Linked DNA regions of Homo sapiens: region 1 is linked to region 2. The links are contacts of gene promoters, found by promoter capture Hi-C in blood cells and fetal thymus (Javierre and others, 2016). All regions are on one chromosome and are shown on one strand. The core of a region is centred on a gene start or on the middle of the fragment in contact, and the rest is flanking DNA. Distances in the headings are between cores, read along the strand shown. Region 1 has its middle 20 kb from the start of MPZL2. Region 2 holds the start of UBE4A (ubiquitination factor E4A).

Region 1 (3,159 bases), core at 492-2,991, 75 kb before region 2:
GCCTTCCTACAATAGAGCAAGAGTGTTTGGGCTCCAGGCCCAGTCAATTTGCTGAGTCCTCTTGCTCATCCACAACTCAGGTCCTTGTAACCATCGGTGGGGAAGGCTGATGCAATAGAAAGATTCGGCATATGAGCGTTACATAACACAGAACTCACATAGGGTACTTCTTCCACCCTGTGCTAAGGGTGTTAACCTTCCTCATCTCTTTTCCATTGCTTCTTACTAAACATTTTAATTGAGTTGATAAACCAAGTGATTCAGGATCGTAATTTTGTCTGTGAGCCATTCTGTTCTGTGACCTCTGGGATAGCTTGTTATGTAATATGTTAGAAGGTTATCATTGCACCAAGGTAATTCCTCATGTGACAGTCCTTTTGACCCATATGACGAGATGTTCCAGGCTCATCTTGAACACTTCTTGCCATAGACTTAAAATCATCCGCAATTCTTCAAGGATCCCTGATTTCTTTTAGTGGGAAATGGTGTTTGAACCTACAATCTGGGCATTAAGGATACACTGCTACGAGGGTGTTAAATTATTTTTGTGACTCATCTACTGCTTTATGCTGTATAGGCAGACCTCATTTTATTGCACTTCACTTTATTGCACTTTGCAGGTATTGTGTTTTTTACAAATTGAAGGTTTGTGACAACCCCATGTAGAGCAAATCATTTTCCAACAGCATGTGCTCACTTTGTGTCTCTGTGTCATGTTTTAGTAATTCTCACAACATTTCAAGCTTGTTTATTATTATTCTATATGTCGTGGTGACCTTTGATCGTGATCTTCGGTGTTACAGTAGTAGATGTTTTGGGGCACAACAAACCATGCCCATACATGATGGCAAACTTAATCAGAAAATGTTGTGCGTGTTCTGACTGCTCCACAGACCAGCCAGTCCCCCATCTCTCTCTCTATTCTCAGGCCTCCCTATTCCCTGAGACACAGCAATATTGAAATCAGGCCAGGTGAACCCTACAATGGCCTCTAAGTGTTCAAGTGAAAGGCAGTCGCATGTCTCTCACTTTAAATCAAAAACTAGACATGAGTAAGCTTAGTGAGGAAGGCATATGGAAAGCAGAGATAGGCAGAAAGCTCGGCCTCTCGCACCAAACAGCTAGCCAAGTTGTGAATGCAAAGGAAAAGTTTTTAAAAGAAATTGAAAGTGCTACTCGAATACATGAATGATAAGAAAGCAAAACAGCTTTGTTGCTGATATGGAGAAAGTTTGAGTGGTCTGGATAGAAGATCAAACCAACCACAACCTTTCCTTAAGTCAAAGCCTAATCCAGGGCAGGGCCCTGACTCTGTTCAATTCTATGAAGCCTGAGAGAGGTGAGGAAGCTGCAGAAGAAAAGTTTGCAGCTAGCAGAGGTTGGTTCATGAGGTTTAAGGAAAGAAGCCATCTCTATAACATAAAAGTACAAGGTAGACCAACAAGTGCTGATGTAGAAGCTGCAGCAAGTTATTCAGTAGATCTAAGTAAGGTAATTGATGAAGGTGGCTACACTAAACAACAGATTTTCAATGTAGTCAGGTGCAGGGGTTCACACTTGTAATCCCAGCACTTTGGGAGGCTGAAGCGGGAGGATCACTTAAGGCCAGGAGTTCGAGAACAGCCTGGGAAACACAGTGACACCCCATCTCTACAAAAAAATAAAAAATTAGCTGGGCATGGTGGCATACACCTGTAGTCCCAGCTACTCGAGAGGCTGAGGCAGGAGAATGGCTTGAACCCAGGAGTCCCAGGAGGCTGCAGTGAGCTATGATTGTGCCACTGTACTCCAGCCTGGGCAACAGAGTGAGATCCCATCTTAAAACAAAAACAAAAACAAAAAAAAACAAGAAAGAAAACTGGGCATGGTGGTGCACATCTCTAGTCCCAGCTACTCAGAAGGCTGGGATGGGAGGATCACTTGAGTACAGGAGTTTGAGGATGCAGCCAGCTATGATTGTGCCACCGCACTCCAGTATGGGCAAGAAAGCAAGATCCTTTCTCAATTTTTTTTTTTTTGAGACAGAGTCTCATTCTGTCATCCAGACTGGAGTGCAGTGGCACAATCTTGGCTCACTGCAACCTCCACCTCCCAGGTTCAAGCAATTCTCCTGCCTCAGCCTCCCAAGTAGCTGAGATTACAGGCATGCACCACCATGCCCAGCTAATTTTTTTTTTTTTTTTGTATTTTTAGTAGAGACAGAGTTTCACCATGTTGGTCAGGCTGGTCTCGAACTCCTGACCTCGGGTGACCCGTATGCCTCGGCCTCCCAAAGTGCTGGGATTACAGGCATGAGCCACCATGCCCAGCCATCAAATCTTTTTAAGTTAAAAAAAAATTAAATGTAGACAAAACAGCCTTACGCTGGAAGAAGATGTCATCTAAGACTTTCATAGCTCTAGAGGAGAAGTCAATGCCTGGCTTCAAAGCTTCAAAGACAGGCTGAGTCTCTTGTTAGTGGCTAATGCAGCTGGTGACTTTATGAAGCCAATTTATCATTTACCATTCTAAAAATCCTAGGGCCCTTAAGAATGATGTTAAATCTACTCTGCCTGAGCTCTATAAATGGAACAACAAAGCCTGGATGACAGCACATCTGTTTCCAGCATGGTTTTTTGTTTTTTTGTTTTGTTTTGTTTTGTCTTTTTCTTTTTTTGAGACAGAGTCTTGCTCTGTCGCCCAAGCTGGAGTGCAGTGGTGTGATCTTGGCTCACTGCAAGCTCCGCCTCCCGGGTTCACACCATTCTCCTGCCTCAGCCTCCCGAGTAGCTGGGACTACAGGCACCTGCCACCACACCTGGCTAATTTTTTGTATTTTTAGTAGAGATGGGGTTTCACCATGTTAGCCAGGATGGTCTAGATCTCCTGACCTTGTGATCCGCCCGCCTCGGCCTCCCAAAGTGCTGGGATTACAGGCATGAACCACCGCACCCAGCCGGTTTACTGAATATTTTAAGCCCACTGTTGAGACTTACTGCCCCCCTAAAAAAGATTATTTTTTAAAATATTATTGCTCATTGACAATGCACCTTGTCACCAAAGAGCTCTGATGGAAATGTACAAAGAGAAATTACTGCTGTTTTCATGCCTACCAACACAACATCTATTCTGCAGCCTATGGATCAAAGAGTAATTCTGACTTTCAAGTCTTATTATTTA
Region 2 (2,804 bases), core at 175-2,674:
GTTTAACTTTTTGAGGAATCATCAAACTGTTTTTCCAAAAAGTCTGGACTATTTAACATTGCCATCAGCAACGCATACGGTTTCAATTTCTCCACATCTGCCAACAATTACTTTCCTTTTTTTTTATAGTAGCCATCCTAGTAGGTATTAAGTGGTATCTCATGATTTTTTTTTTCATTTCCCTAAAGACTAGTGGTGTTGAGCACTCTTTCATATGCTTATCCACCATTTGTACAGTTGGCCTTCCATATCTGTGGGCTCTGCATCTGTGGCTTCAACCAACCATGAATTGGAAATATTCCAAAACAAATTTCATCTGTATTGAACATGTACAGACTTTTTGTCATTATTCCCTAAACAATACAACACTATTTAGATTTATGTTGTATTAGGTATTATAAGTGATCTAGAGATGACTTAGTCATCTCTAGGATGACACAGGAGGATGTGCATAGGTTATATGCAAATACTGCATCATTTTATGTAAGGAACTTGAGCATCCTTGGATTTTGGTACCCAAGGGGGTCCTGAAACAAATCCCCCACAGATACCAAGTGGATAGTCATTCTCTTGGAATGTATCTTCTTTGGAGAAATGTCTATTCAAGTCCTTTGCCCTTTTTTGAACTGAACTGTTTGGGGGTTTTTCGTTCTTGTAGTTCTTTACATATTCTAGAGATGAATCCTTTATCAGATATATGAGTTGCAACTATTTTCTCTCAATCTGTGAATTTTCACTTGCACAGCGCTTTTAACTCTTGAAAATTATGCTGCTTCTATTATTTATGTGTATCCCGATCTCTTGCCCTCGTGACCCGCCCGTCTCAGCCTCCCAAAGTGCTGGGACTACAAGGCGTGAGCCACTGTGCCTGGCCATCTATGTGTATCTCAAAACAACCTTGTAGGATGTATACTGTCTCCACTTTACAGATAAGAAAACTGAAATCCAATCAAAGATAGCACACTCCAAAGATTGCTCCAAAGACAGCACAACAATAACAAACTTGTAGTTGTTATTGCTGTTAGTGTTATCCCTTTGAATAATAGAGAGTAACAGAAGCTGCTTCAAAAAGGTCTAGGACTGGTGGGAAAATAAGAGAGCAGACCCCCAACAGAGGTTGCGAGCAGAGCCAGGGATCACAGAGTTTTATCTGCCCTCGGTACGCTGATTTCCAAAACCCAGCCTCATATTCTATACTCCAAAGCGCACTGCCAGGTGGGCCAACTCCAGCCCCCACAATCCGATGCCAAGGCCACTTCTTGCCACTTCCTGCCCGCCTCCAGCCCGCCCCTAACAAGCTAGCGCATGCGCTGTAGGACTATTTGCGCGCCGTTCCCCCCGGTGAGCCTGCACACCGTGCTTCCGGCGCGGAGATGAACTTCCACATGCCCCGGCGCTTGTTGATGACGTAACTTCCGGTTGCTGTGCTGAGTCGGAAGTGGGAACCCTTCGGCCGCTGAGATTCTGTCGTGTCGTCGCTGCTGGCACTTCAGGCTCTGGTAAGACAGGCAATAGCTTCAGGGGACGGGGTCGTTGACTTTGCGTTGTGATATTTTCTGCTGGTCCAATGCCACTTCAAGCCTGTTCACTCTTATCTTCTCCAAATTCCTTCTCCTATGCTTTGCTAACCAGGGACCTTCTCCTTCTTGAACTTCGACCCTGTCTGATTTGGAACCCCTTACAGTGCCCCAGCTTCTGATGTCTCTTTGTACATTTCTGTCCCCATCTTTGCCAAGCCCCTCCTGGAAGAGGCCGGAGCGCTATCATTGCATTATCTTTTGACTTAACTTTCTCTAGAACGTGCCCCGGGCGGGTGGATCTCCCTCCTTCCCGCGAATCCCTTATGGAGCATGGAAGGATAAAATATAAAGAGTAGATAACAAATAGGCAGATGCCAAGAAGATAAGATTAATCGTGAGTCGTAAGCAAACCAGTTCAATGCATACGTCAGGGTGTTGATAATTCTTAAGGCAGGTGATGAGTTCACCACAGATAACTCTTGGGGCACTCTGCTTCATGTTTCCTTGGGTTTAGAAGACACTTCTAAAATTGAGTGACCATGCCTCATGACCTTATATTTGATGAGCCTTCCTTTTAGGATCAGTTTTATGCCCTGACAGCAAGCATGTGTTTAGTCTCGCTGTCATTTACTGTTTTGGTCTCACGTGGAAGCCCACCTGCGATAAAATGGGATCCAAGAAGGACTGCTGTCTGCTTTTTGACTTGAGATCCTTCTAGGCTGCAGATAGATGTGTTGATGGAATTTGTTGCCACATTAGCATGGCCTGATAGTGTTAGGTGAAACATACGACAACGAAAATTGTTTCTTAATTTCTATTTTAAATTGATATTTTAATTTCTATTTTATATTGATATATGTATTATTTGCCAGGACACAGACCTTATGGGAGTATGATTTGATAGAGCTTGATTTTGACGATCCCAGTTTTACAAAGTGTTCCAGATATTTCTGTTGAAAAACAATACCAAGTCTGATGTTAACACACTTGTGTGTTCATGAGAGCTGACAGTGGTCTTAAAGGATTAGTGGTACTATTCATAAACAAAAGCTTGTATTAGGAGGAAGTGACAGAATTTTGTAGGACAGCTATTATAGATATAGATCTTTGCAGCAAGTGTATCAGAGTGAAACTTGTTTTCAAGGAGGATATATTTTAAAAGAATCAAATCCAAAAGCTTCTAAGGTTGGTAGCTGTACCATCCCAAAGTGTCTGACAACAGGATAGTGTTGTATCTCTGTATGGCAGTTGAAAATAGGAAAAAAAATACATACATATATGTAT

Evidence for each region. The method cuts DNA at HindIII sites, captures the fragments that hold promoters and counts their contacts. A CHiCAGO score of 5 or more calls a contact.
Region 1: a contact is called between a fragment that was not itself captured here and the fragment with the promoter of UBE4A in region 2, in 1 of 17 cell types (activated CD4 T cells). The highest score is 5.1, in activated CD4 T cells.

The regions. Positions count from the first base shown.
Region 1 is chr11:118,282,868-118,286,026 of GRCh38, forward strand. No RefSeq gene overlaps it. Among named protein-coding and RNA genes, the nearest start is that of MPZL2, 20 kb to the left of the region's middle. The HindIII fragment of the contact is 1,372 bases long and covers 1,056-2,427 here.
Region 2 is chr11:118,358,176-118,360,979 of GRCh38, forward strand. It overlaps UBE4A (ubiquitination factor E4A), which reads left to right and starts at 1,425. Exons shown (of 20, transcript NM_001204077.2): 1 at 1,425-1,499. RefSeq lists an enhancer at 1,362-1,431. The HindIII fragment of the contact is 13,441 bases long and covers 1-2,568 here.